Regions from separate parts of the Homo sapiens genome. Here regions 2 and 3 are each linked to region 1. Evidence: promoter capture Hi-C in human tissues and cell types (Jung and others, 2019). All regions are on one chromosome and are shown on one strand. Each heading gives the region's core, a stretch centred on a gene start or on the middle of the fragment in contact. The rest is flanking DNA. Distances are from core to core; before and after follow the strand shown.

The links. Contacts are between HindIII fragments. The study calls those that stand out against the background at their distance.
Region 2: a contact is called between a fragment that was not itself captured here and the fragment with the promoter of POU5F1B in region 1, in 1 of the 25 tissues and cell types used here (ovary).
Region 3: a fragment that was not itself captured here is called in contact with the fragment with the promoter of POU5F1B in region 1 in 1 of the 25 tissues and cell types used here (psoas muscle).

What each region holds. Positions count from the first base shown.
Region 1 is chr8:127,413,647-127,418,193 of GRCh38, reverse strand. It overlaps POU5F1B (POU class 5 homeobox 1B), which reads right to left and starts at 2,327. Exons shown (of 1, transcript NM_001159542.3): 1 at 1,248-2,327. The coding sequence starts at 2,327. The coding sequence ends at 1,248. All of the region lies in intron 5 of CASC8 (cancer susceptibility 8), which reads left to right. The HindIII fragment of the contact is 11,415 bases long and covers 1-4,547 here.
Region 2 is chr8:127,359,319-127,363,865 of GRCh38, reverse strand. All of the region lies in intron 3 of CASC21 (cancer susceptibility 21), which reads right to left. All of the region lies in intron 5 of CASC8 (cancer susceptibility 8), which reads left to right. Among named protein-coding and RNA genes, the nearest start is that of CCAT2, 39 kb to the left of the region's middle. The HindIII fragment of the contact is 3,348 bases long and covers 942-4,289 here.
Region 3 is chr8:127,453,033-127,457,579 of GRCh38, reverse strand. The region is part of intron 4 of CASC8 (cancer susceptibility 8); the gene reads left to right. Among named protein-coding and RNA genes, the nearest start is that of CASC8, 27 kb to the left of the region's middle. The HindIII fragment of the contact is 4,462 bases long and covers 267-4,547 here.

The sequences.
Region 1 (4,547 bases), core at 1,078-3,577:
ACCCTCTATTTCATGTCCTTCCAAGGAGCTGGTCCAGGGTAAATAGGTGCACATCTTTGAATCAAGAGTCATGAATAGGTGCATTATTACTGAGTGGACTTAAGTTCCTAATGTTCACTATGAATAATGAGTCTAATGTGAAATCTTAATGCATTTAAGGTAGATATGATGTTCTTTTAAAAATGAATTTTCAGGGCCGGGCGTGGTGGTTCACGCCTACAATCCCAATACTTTGGGAGGCCAAGGCAGGCAGATCACCTGAGGTCAAGAGTTCGAGACCAGCCTGGCCAACATGGTGAAACCCCATCTCTACTAAAAATACAAAAATTAGCCGGGCGTGGTAGTGGGCGCCTGTAATCCCAGCTACTCAGGAGGTTGAGGCAGGAGAATTACTTGAACCTGGGAGGCAGAGGTTGCAGTGAGCCGAGATCACACCACTGCACTCCAGCCTGAGCTATAAAGGAAGGCACTACCTCAAAAAAAGAAAAAAAATTATCCGGGCCAGGTGCAATGGCTCATGCCTGTAATCCCAGTACTTTGGGAGGCCCAGGCAGGAGGATCCCTTGAGCTCAGGAGTTTGAGACCAGCCTAGACAATATGGCAAAACCCCATCTCCACCAAAAATACAAAAATTAGCCAGTCTCATAACCTGGTCTCAAAATAAATAAGTAAATAAATAAAATTTTAAAAAATTAAATTAAAAAATGAATTATCTGTATCATGGGGAATGGTTAATGCTCACATTTTTGTGGAATATGTGAGGGAATGGTGAGGGCCGAACTATGCCGTTAGCGGTCAAAAGAGGTTTTGTATCAGGACAAATAGGATGTCTTGAAGAAAAACTACAGCTACCATCAAGTAGCACTCTAGGAAAAGGTAAAAAGGAGGAAAAAAGCAAGTATTTATTGAATACCTACTACGTGCCACACATTTTACCACACTTAAAAAATTATTACTCAATTATGTTACTTTTCTTTTCTTTCTTTTTTTTTTTTTTTTACTGTGTCCCAGGCTTCTTTATTTAAGAAAAAAGTGATACATGATGTGGGATTAAAATCAAGAGCATCATTGAACTTCACCTTCCCTCCAACCAGTTGCCCCAAACTCCCCTGCCCCCACCCTTAGTGTTCCCAATTCCTTCCTTAGTGAATGAAGAACTTAATCCCAAAAGCCCTGCCACAAACTCCAGGTTCTCTTTCCCTAGCTCCTCCCCTCCCCTGTTCCCCATTCCTAGAAGGGCAGGCACCTCAGTTTGAATGCATGGGAGAGCCCAGAGTGATGACGGAGACTGGGGGAAAGACTTCCCCCTCAGGGAAAGGGACTGAGGAGTACAGTGCAGTGAAGTGAGGGCTCCCATAGCCTGGGGTACCAAAATGGGGCCCTGGGGCCGGAGGAAAGGACACTGGTCCCCCTGAGAAAGGAGACCCAGCAGCCTCAAAATCCTCTCGTTGTGCATAGTCGCTGCTTGATCGCTTGCCCTTCTGGCGCCGGTTACAGAACCACACTCGGACCACATCCTTCTCGAGCCCAAGCTGCTGGGCGATGTGGCTGATCTGCAGTGTGGGTTTCGGGCACTGCAGGAACAAATTCTCCAGGTTGCCTCTCACTCGGTTCTCGATACTGGTTCGCTTTCTCTTTCGGGCCTGCATGAGGGTTTCTGCTTTGCATATCTCCTGAAGATTTTCATTGTTGTCAGCTTCCTCCACCCACTTCTGCAGCAAGGGCCGCAGCTTACACATGTTCTTGAAGCTAAGCTGCAGAGCCTCAAAGCGGCAGATGGTCTTTTGGCTGAACACCTTCCCAAATAGAACCCCCAGGATGAGCCCCACATCGGCCTGTGTATATCCCAGGGTGATCCTCTTCTGCTTCAGGAGCTTGGCAAATTGCTCGAGTTCTTTCTGCAGAGCTTTGATGTCCTGGGACTTCTCCGGGTTTTGCTCTAGCTTCTCCTTCTCCAGCTTCACGGCACCAGGGGGGACGGTGCAGGGTTCCGGGGAGGCCCCATTGGAGTTGCTCTCCACCCCGACTCCTGCTTCGCTCTCAGGCTGAGAGGTCTCCAAGCCGCCTTGGGGCACTAGCCCCACTCCAACCTGAGGCCCACAGTACGCCATCCCCCCACATAACTCATACGGCGGGGGGCAAGGGGGAATCCCCCACACCTCAGAGCCTGGCCCAACCCCCGGCCCGATTCCTGGCCCTCCAGGAGGGCCTTGGAAGCTTAGCCAGGTCAGAGGATCAACCCAGCCCGGCTCCGCCCCCCATGGCCCATCACCCCCACCGCCTGGAGGGGGCGAGAAGGCGAAATCCGAAGCCAGGTGTCCCGCCATGGGGAAGGAAGGCGCCCCAAGCCGGGGGCCTGGTGAAATGAGCAATTATGTTACTTTTCATTGAAAGCTCTGTGACCGTATGGCTGTGTGTGTCATACGCTCACTAGCAATGAACACAGTGCCTGAAGCATCATTAAATGTTGACTGAATGTGTTAGGAACTCTTCAAAAGTAATCTCTTTAAATCATAATCACCTGTGAATTGACAATTATTATCTTCACTTTGTGGATAAGAATGCCAAGATTTGGAAATGTTGAATAATGTGTCCATTGTGTCAGTGGCCGATCTGAAATTCCAGTGTAGGCACCATGATTCCTGAGTCCATTCTGCTTCTGCCATACCATGATGCTAGATTCTTCATGGGAGCCATCTACTTGTGTTCTGTGCTATGGAATGGTGTGTCCTTCTTTCTGATTCTTATTTCCTGCAGATTGTGGGGAAACGGTTCTACCATTAACAACCAAAGGCAAAATGGGCTGCAACCAAAGAAATTCCCTGACCTAATTCTTTATAGTTGGTGACAAGTGTGCTGTAGTGACGGGAAATAGCACTCTATGAAGATTTAATAGTGCAAATTCTACCCTCCTGACAACCCCTTTCTTCAGCACTGGATGGGTGTATTAGTTGTTTATCATTGTGTAATAGATCACCTCAAAACTTAATAGCTTAAAAACAACTAACACATAGCTCACAGTTTTGTAAAATAGCAATTGTGGTGTGGCTTAACTGGGTATCCTGGATAAGGGTATTTCATGAGGTTGTGGTCAAGATGAGAGCAGGGGATGTTGTCATCTGGGAGCCTAACGGGGGCTGGAGGATCCACTTTCCAAAATGTCTCACTTACTTGGCTGTTGGCAAAGGCCCCGGTTTCTTGTTGGCTGTTGGTAGGAGGCCTCAGTTGCTCACCATGTGGGCTTTTCCATAAAGCTGCTTGAGTGTCCTCACAACATGTCAGCTGGATTCACCCAGAGAGAATGACCTAAGAAAGAGAGAGCAGGGAAGAAGCCACTGCGTTCTTTATGACCTAGTCTCTGAAATCGCACACTTTTACTTGTGCCATATTTTATTCATTAGAAGTGAGTCACATTCTGTAGGAGGGTAATTAGCCTTCACCATTTGGCAGGAGGACTATCAAATAATTGGTGGGCATATTGTAAAGCTATCATAATGGTTCTGGTAGGCCATGTTTTTGCCTCTGCCACTCAAATATTGGATGTCCATTTCTTAAAGGGATTGTGAAAAGAGAAGGGGCTTTAGAATAAGACAGGCAAATGTTTAAACATTGAGTAAATTTTTAATGTCCTTAACCCTTGTTTCTCAACCATAAAATGAGAATGATCATATCAAATCTTCACAGTTTTGCAGGATGGGTTGCAGGTAATAAAGTCCTAGTGCAATGTCTGGCACAAGGTAAGTGTTTAAGCAGTGGGCTCCTTTCTGTTACATAATGTGGCAACCCTCTTCTCCCCTCTCTACCTCTCAAATATGTGTCTGAGTCAGAACACCAAAGTCACACACACACAGGTACAAAACAATTCCTGATTCTATTCCATTTCCATCATGCCATGCTGCCAGTTTCTCCATGGGGCCATCTTTACTTCTGTAGTAAGGAATATAGTTACTTGTTACAGAAATTAGATTCCAGAATTGGGATATGAGTTGGAAAGGGAACTTAAACGTTCTCCTTCAGTCTTGCTCAAATTCTCATGCTTATTTGACGTTCTTGAGTGTTTCCAATAAGATAGATATGACTTTACCTCTAGATTCTCCCACTTGTTATCCTGCCAACCTTAAGTCCCCTTTCTCAGGGTAATAACTTTCTGCTCAATTCTGTTGTGAGGTTTAAGTCAAGTAAGATGTGTGTAATTTTCTCATGAAACAGTAGCTATTATTTATTGTTTATCATTTTATCATTAACTTCTGTTCCTTTAGACCTGACTAAAATATTTCTAGTGTCATTTGAAAATATTGTATTATATCGGGTGTTGTGTGTGTGTGTGTGTGTGTGTACCACCTTTTTTTAAGAAGCACAAAATGTGTTTGACCAGTTACTTAGATTATTTATTTCTCACAAAATGAAGTCAAGTCCATATTGTCTCATTTAGCAGAAAAGTGAAATAGAAGGTTAATAGGTTGGCCTAAGCCTCACAGCTGGTAAGTATAGCTACCTAGATTTGAACCATGAAAATCGTTTGAGGTGATGCTCTGCTTTATTTAATC
Region 2 (4,547 bases), core at 1,366-3,865, 55 kb after region 1:
TTTGGCAGAGACAGAGAAGCAGTACCAGAAAAATCAATAATAATCATCGAAATAATGATAATAATAGTAATAGTAGCAACTTTTATTTTTTTATCCACTTGCTGTCGACTGGGTAAAAAATAAAGTGCTTAATATTCAGTTTTACTTAATGCTATCACCATATAAAGTAGGGATTACTGCTGCATTTTGTAGATGTAAAAACTGAGCTCAACAAGGTGATGTGACTTGCCCAACACCAAGCACTAGTAAGTGGCAGAAATGGAATTCAGGTCTACACGTGTGAGGTCTTAGGTAGCTTTCGGTGAGTGTTCAGGGTCATGAAGACTTGGTATTTGTCTTAATTCTTTTCGCCGCTTTGCTGACTTGACTGCTATGGCTATTAAACAAGTGAGAGAAGGCCCTTATTTTGATGTCATCTTCTCTCTGAAGCTTGTGAGATTCACCTTTCCTCGCTTTATATCTGGTTATTGTCTAGCATAATAATGAAAATACTGTTAATACAAATTATAAAAATAATAATGACAGCTATTATTTAGAGTGCTTATTATGCACTAGAAATTACTGTATTTTCTATTGTTTAATCTTCATGACAATTCTGTGTAGTGGGGCTATTTATCCCTACATGATACCTGGGAAAACTGGAACTCAGAGGGAATACAGTAACTTGTTAAAGGATTTGAACTTAGGTTTGCTCCACACTAAACATTGGGCTATAGGGTTGTTGAGACAGAAGGAAGTTTGGAGTCAAATAAGCCAATCCCTTGCAATATAAAGATCCCAGAGAGAATAAGGAATTTGTGAATGGCTTCGAGGTAGAAAGGAGAAGAAGCCAAACTGGACCGTGGGTCAGCGGACTCCTCTCCAAGTACTTTTTTTTCCCTACTAACGTGCATCATATTGATTACCTGCTTCAGTTCTGTTACTTTTTGGGAGAGAAAATCAGAGGCCAAAAGCAGTCATGTCATTGGAATAAACACATAAGCAAACAAAAAACACGAGGAACAAAGAATGATATTGGTATCAAGACTTTTGAAACTACCTGATTAAAAATACTTGATTTGGACTTAAAAACCACATCAGATCATCTTTACAACTGAACTAGTGCAGGTGGTTTTAACAGTAGTCATTAGGATGAGCAAATGAATGACTGGACAGAAAGGGACAATAACTGGTGATTAAGTGGTAGCAGATAGACACAGACCTAGATCTGGTTCACTCAGTGCATTTTTTCAAGGGAGAAAGTCATCAGTCTTGGAGATTTCCCCCACTCAATATGAGTATCTCTAATTTATTACATACATATCTTAGGCTGGGCTTTTAAAGCAATATTATTTTTTATTTATAGGGGAATTTAAATACGGCATTTTTCAAAGTGTAAACTTCAGATCTAACCTATCAGCTGGAGTCATAAATCACAGCTTCTTCATTTCCAAATCATTAGGGAGACTGAAAGCTTAAAGTATTTAATTTATCCAAACCACATGGGGTAGTTTATCATTGTGCATGATGTACCATTTTTTTTTATTTCAGTGCTGACTAGTAAAATTTTGAACAAATCATGCTGAGTTTTGGGGGTATATGAAGGCAATGCAAACCTTTTAAATCTCCAAGGAGTATGTAATATGAGTATCCGTATGAAAAATGTGTAGAAATGGAAGTTAACATAATACTTAGGATAGCTCCCTGACATTACAGGGTACCTCGTATTAGAATCCATTCTGCATGAAATAAGTTAGATTTTTTAAAGAGAGAAAAATGTGGTGCCTTGATGAATAGAAATGGATAAAATGAATGAATGAGATAGATGCAAAATGGACTAGTCCTTTCTTGGTAAGACAACACATTTTTTTTCCTATTTATAGGTTTCTGTCTATAAATAAAGTAAATCCTCCAGTACTTGCCTTGAAAAATTGTCTTACATTCACAAGAAAATATTTCAGATTATTTGATGAGTAAGTCTTTTTTTTTTTACTTTACTCAAAATCTCAACTGGCTTCAAGTTCATGACTGGAGTAGTGAGGTTACTTATGTCTTTTGAAAGTAGTGGGCATTCCTTAGAATACCAAAGATTTAATATATTAACAATACCAAAACCCAGGATTTGAGCCCAGATCTGTTTTAGCTCCAAAACTCCCAAGCTGAGTCAATCTCAACACCATCCAATGCTCTGCCTTTTAGAGAACAACAGATAGCTCTAGGAAAGAGTAAGCTGATGGGAATATAATCTTCTTCTCAGCTTAAAATAGGCTTGTCTCCCGAGTGCGGCTCTACATTTACCCATTGTTTCTATTTGTGCATTGAAGCCTTCATTTATCTCTGCACTCCCATGTTCATCGAAGCATTATTCACAATAGCAAAGATATGGAAACAACACAAATGTCCATCAACAGATGAATGGATAAAGAAAACATGGTATATATACAAAATGGAATGTTGTTTAGTCTTAAAAAGAAAAAAATCCTGCCATTTGTGCCAACACGGGCACAAATGAACCTGGGAGACATTAGGCTAAGTGACATAAGCCAGGCACAGAAGAACAAATACTACATGATTCCACTTTTATGACATGTCTATAATGGTCAAAATCATAGAAGCAGGGATCACAGTAGTGGTTGCCAAGGAGTGGGAAGATGGAGAGTTGTTGTTCAATAAGTATAAAGTTTCAGTTATGCTAGATTAATAAATTCTAGAGGTCTTCTATACAACATATTATCTACTGTTAATAATATGATATTGTGCACCAGAAAATTTAAGAGGGAAGATCTCATGTTACATGTTCTTACTGCCAACATAACAAAACTGGAAGGTAATGGGCATGTCCATTACCTTAATTGTACTGATGGTTTTTGCGTATATCCAAACTCATCAAATTGCAATAAATATCACTCATTAAATATGTGCAGGTCTTTGTATATCAATTATACTTCAATAAAGCTTTTATTTATTTATTCTTTTTTTTTAAAGCCGTTCTAAAATCCCTGAAATGAGCTTGGTGCTATGCTAGGTGATGGACATTTCATTCTAGTCCTATATATGTTGTTTAAAAAATTTAGACAAAATTAATTTAACAAAGTTTATTTGAGCGTGAATCAGGCAGAACTCCACTTGGAAAAGGTTCAGAGAACTCTGCTTCAGCAGCATGAGCAGCGGGCTTCTGTAGAGTGCACATGAAAGCAAAGTAAAGAAATTGCTTGATTGGTTACAGATAGGCCTTTTGCCTTGTTTAGGTACAATCTAGTGGGAAGTCTCTAGTTGGAGGTTAGTTGGTGATTTCAGATTGGCTAAACTTAAGTTCTGTTTTTTCAGTTGTAATCCCCAGTATTGGAGGTGGGGCCTGATTGATAGGAAATAATTGGATCATGGGGGTGGATCCTTCATCAATGGTTTAGTATCATCCCCTCTTGGTACTGCAGAATGAATTAGTTCTCATGAAATCTGGTTGCATAGAAATTTGTGGCACCTCCCCCTTCTCTCTCTCTTCCTCCTGCTCCAACCATGTAAGATGTCCCTGCTTCCCCTTTGCCTTCTGCCATGATTATCAGTTTCCTAAGGCCTCCCCAGAAGCCACTATGCTTCCTGTACAATCTGCAGAACTGTGAGCCAATGAAACCACTTTTCTTTATAAATTACCCAGTCTCAGGTATTTCTTTATAGCAATGCAAGAATGGACTAATACAGAACCCAAAACACTGGAGCCATCTCAGCCTAATGGCCTTCCAATTAAATGTTTTTTAAAAGTTTTAAGACTCAAATTTGGCATGGACTGAACCTGAAGTAACTGCCCTAGTTTATTCTACAACTTTAGATGACTCTAAATCCTTCTTATGCAATAATTTCTACTTATATCCATCACTTTTTAAACTGTGGAGTCATGAAACATTTCTAAGCCTCAATTTCCTTATCTGCAAAATGGAGGTAATAATTTAATACCTGCTTTTCTAACTTAGAAAAATAAGGTGAGATAGATAGCGTGATGCCAAATATAAGTACAAGGAATGACAATAGTACTAATTATTGGGCTTACATTTAACAACTAACATTAAGCACTACATGATATAAACAATTTACATGTTCCATTTCACATAATCTTCATTAAAGTCTAAAGAGAGAGAGATAATACTATTCTTTCTGCTCTATAGATGAATGAACCGAATCTTTAGAGAGGTTAATAACTTGCCCAAGATCGTGGACTATTGAACACCAACACTGCATAAAATTGCACTTATTGTAGTGAAGGCTGAGAGAACCCTGAAGACTGTAAGGTGACTGTTGACTTGGCACCCAGCTATGAGATGCTGGAGGATGCTCATATCTGTGGACTATTTTAGCCTTGACTACATAGTCCCACACCTCAGATCTGACATATCCGATTGAAAACATTTTCAATGAGCCACACATGGCAGCCAATGCTTCCATTTCAGAGAGGAAACGAGAACACTCACATTTAATAGGCAAGGCTATGCTAAAACCTTTATATATTTTGCCTTATTTTGGCCTCATAACAATGCTATGTGGTAGTTACTATTATCTACCTTTATAGGTCTAAA
Region 3 (4,547 bases), core at 1,248-3,747, 39 kb before region 1:
GGATGTAGTCCTGTTATGGTTGGACTGGGGATAGAAGAGCTTCCAAGCTCACTCACATGATTGATGGCACAATTCAGTTTCTCCCAAGCTGTTAGACTGAGGGCTTCACTTCCTTGCTGGCTGTTGGCTGGAGGCCACTCTTAGTTCCTAGCAAGTAAACCTTCTCACAGGGCAGCTCACAACATGGAAACTTGCTTCATCTGAGTGAGAAAGTGAGAAGGAGAGAGAGAGAGAGAGAGAGAGAGCCAATAAGATGGAAGTTACAGTCTTTTGCAACCTAATCGTGGATGTGACATCCCATCACCTTTGCCATATTCTGTTCTTTAAAGGCAAAGCACTAGGTCCAGCCTACACAAAGGATGTGAATATGGAGAGGTGGGAATCACTGTGGGTGGGGTGGCCCTCTTAGGAGCCTGAATGCCAAAGAGAGGGGAAGCCTGGAATATCAAAGGCACAGGCAGAAGGTCAGAGAGGCTTGTAGATAAGGGGATAGTGGTGCAAGATCTGGTCAAAGAGAAAAATGGGGGCCAGATCATGTAAGGCCTGATTGGCCAAGGTAAGACATGATAGAAAGTTACTGGTAGGTTTTGGGAAAAGAAGTAAATACATTTGGTTCAAATTCTCAACAGATCGTTCAGACTGTCACATGCATATAGCAAGTAGGAGGGCCAGGGTAAGGAGGGGAAAGAAGCCAGTTAGAGGCTGCTCTGGCTGTTCATTTCAAGGTGGTGGTGGTTTGTCTCATGGTGGTGACCATAAAAAGAGAGTGACAGTGGCCGGGCGCAGTGGCTCAAGCCTGTAATCCCAGCACTTTGGGAGGCCAAGGCGGGTGGATCAGGAGGTCAGGAGATCAAAACCATCGTGGCTAATACGGTGAAACCCCATCTCTACTAAAAATACAAAAAAAGCTGGGCGTGGTGGTGGGTGCCTGTAGTCCTAGCTACTCGGGAGGCCGAGGCAGGAGAATGGCGTGAACCCGGGAGGCGGAGCTTGCAGTGAGCCGAGATCGCGCCACTCCACTCCAGCCTAGGTGACAGAGCAAGACTCCGTCTCAAAAAAAAAAAAAAAAAAAAAAAAAAAAGGAGTGACAGAGTGGGATCTATTTTGGAGGAAGAGTTAGCAGAGTTTGCTGGTGGCTTAGATGAGGGTAATGAAGGAAAGCAAAATCAGCTGGTCATTATTTTGATTGCTTTTTATTGTATCTTGTGTTTATTGAAAACCTGAAAGCATGTGAGAGCTAGAAGAATCCTTGGGAATTATTTAATACAGTTTCCTTGTCATACTGATGGGGAAGCTGCAAGCCACTTCATCTTTCTAGTCCTCAGCTTCCAGTTTTGTAATAGGAGAAGCTGGGCTAGATTTTCTGTGAGCATTAAGGAATACTCTCTGAACAAAACCAAAGCTTGAATCTGCACTGACTTCCAGTTTGTGCCTTTGTCCATTTCCTGTATGGAGAAGCTGAGAGGAAGGAAGGGTGGGTGGAGAGGGAGATCAGCCTGTGCAAAGGTATTGAGTCCAGAGCACGCTTGATGGGTCAAAGGGGTTTTGGGTAGCCAATGGGCTTTAAAAACCACTATGGTACCAAGATTCTGTGGTCCATTTGCTGGTGGAAAACAGCCTGACCATGTGCTTTCTCAGAGTGCTTGGATGTAGGGCAAAGGTCTGCAGAAATATTTAACCAGGTGAGCAGATACATTATTAATAGTAATATCTACCTGTTATGGAACACATACTCTGTGCTGGACACTGTATAGCTGGAGAAAATATACATTCATTGTTCAGTTCTTTCTCACTCTTGCAGAGCTGCTTCTTCTATACTCTCATTCTTGTGAAAAGCAGTTACTCAGACCAAGAAACTCGTAGTCCCATTCCTTCTCTCCCACTCACATATAACTCATCAGCAAACCCTGTTGGCTCGATTTCAAAATAAAACCCAATTCCTACCATTTCTCCATCTCAATGGCTACCATTGCAGCCCAAACCACCATCCTCTTTTCCTAGAGAACATTTAACATCTCCCTAACTGGCTCCCACACCTGATCCCTCCGGTCTAACACAACATAGCAGCTTGAGTGATCCTGGTAAAACTGAAGTCAGATCATGGCACTCCTACGTCAAAAGCCTCCAATGGCTCCCAATTACTTTTAGAGAAAACAATCTAAGTCCTTGTAATGGTCCCATAAAGCATTGCATAATTAGTGTCCCATCCTCGCACTATCAGTTACATCTCTGATCTTCCTCCTACTTCTTTCTCCCTCGCTCACTCCAGTGCAGCCACATGGCCTCCCTGTTTCTGGAACACAGAGGCACCACCCTCCCAGTGTCTTGCCTCTGGGCCTCTAAACTTGCTGTTTCCTCTTGCCTAGAAAGCTCTTCTTCCAGATACTTACAAAGCTTGCTCTTTCACCGCCCACTCCTCCCTTTATTTTTTGAGACAGGGTCTCACTCTGTTGCCCAAGCTGGAGTGCAGTGACACAATCTCAGCTCACTGCAGCCTTGACCTCCTGGACTCAAGTGTTTCTCCCATCCCCACCTTCTGAGTAGCTGGAACTACAGGAGCCCACCACCATGCCTAGCTAATTTTTTTGTATTTGTAGAGATGGGGTTTCGCTGTGTTGCCCAGGCTGGCCTCCAACACCTTAGCTCAAGTGTTTGGCCTGCCTTGGCCTCTCAAAGTGCGAGGATTACAAGAGTAATCCTCCTCCAGTGCGCCTGGCCCCTCACTCCTTTTTGAAGTCTTCACTGCATGTTGCTTTCTCAATTGCAGTCTTTCCTGGTCATTCTGATTTGAACTGAACTCCTCCTTCCAATACTCCCTATTCTCTTTCCCTGTTTTATATTTCTTAGTATTTATCACCTTCAAATGCAATATATTTTCTTTTCTGTCTCCCATAAGTAGAACATAACTCCACAAATGCTGAGGCTTTTGTTTTGTTCATTACTGTATCTCCAGAACTTAGAGCATAGTAGATGCTGAATAAATGCTTGTAGAATGAATGAAGAATCTGCCGTATGAGGCAAGTACTCTTTCCCTCTAGTTATCGCATGTGAACACTGAGATGCAGAAAAAATTTGCATTTTGCCTGAGGTCACAAAGTTGGAGAATGGCAGAGTTAGGACTTAAAGCAGAGTTTGTTAGCTCCCAGAACAGCCACCAGATTTTGTGTGTTCTTGGAGGCATAATAGAATGGGTTAAGGCCATAACAATGGCTTTAACAGAACGTGAGCCTCAATTTCTTTATTCATAAACAGGGAAATAAATATTTACCCCATGAAGTTGTTGTAAGGGTCAAGTGGGATGCTAAGTGTGAAAGTGCATTGTAAGATATTAAATGTTTTCCTTGCATGGAAATTGTGCATACTATATATAGTACTGTATTGAACAGCACAGATATAGAACAGTTGCATACTATATAGTATTGTGAATACTATACAGGACCACATGGGGACCTTGAACTTGGTATGTTCCCAATCAGAAAGCAGCACTGGGTCATAAAAGACACTAGTTGTAGAGACCTGTTGTAGAAGGCCTGGGTAGAAAAAAAAAATAAGAAAATCTGGCTTTCACCAGTTTTGAGCTTGCTGACTCAAGTTGATCAAACTGGGGTTACTGAGCCTCAGCTTCGTCAGCCTTAGAATGAGGCTCACTCTATCCTACTACACGACTGTAAAACTCACTTGGGATCGCGTGAGGGAGGCCTGCAGCAGGTCTTTTTCTCTGTCATTACAATTTACACTGTCCTGTCTGTGGGCACATTCAGAAGTAATTTCATGTTTCTCAGCTTTCACTGGGGACTTCAAGCATCTTAAGGAGCAGGCAAGCTGGCGACTTGTGGCAATCTTCTTTTACATCCATGTCATAATTCTTAGGGCCCAGCATGAAAGTCCAGGGCGGTATCATTTCTCACATCTGAGTGAGTTTTCTCATTTGCAATCATTTCCCAGACAAATCTTTCTGGGAGTACGCTTTTTTTTTTTTTTTTTCTGGAATATAAGCCCATATTGGAATAGATCACTTCTCCCTTAGGGAATCTTTGAAATTTTGAATGTTTTGTAATTCTCTACTAACCTGTAAGCCAGAAAATACCCCTGATTCAAACTGCATAAATAAAGGATTTTTAAAAGCCTAAATAAAATGCAATACGAGGAAAGAATTTCAGCAATAATAGAATGTCTGGTTAATTTTCGAGTATAAGGCAGAGTTGCTTCTCCTGAAAATAGAAATATTTTCCTGAACACCAGAAGATATGAAAAACTCTTAGTAATGACTGAAGCAGAAAGCCAGGAATGGGATTTGAGTAACTGGCATTCAGTCTTGCTCCTGGGAATGAGGGCATCGTTATGGAGCAGGCTGCCCCAGGCCACCTGCCTGATTGCTCCTTCAGATGCACAAGTCCCCACTGCAGGCCAAGGACACACTTGAGATCCCTGCCTAGTGCACCTCAAGACAGGACAGGCAGAAACAGACTGGAGAGAGAAATCCGCTCCACAGCCCAAAGCACCAGATTATGCTCAGATTAAATGAGAAAGGAACAGACAGCAGGCTC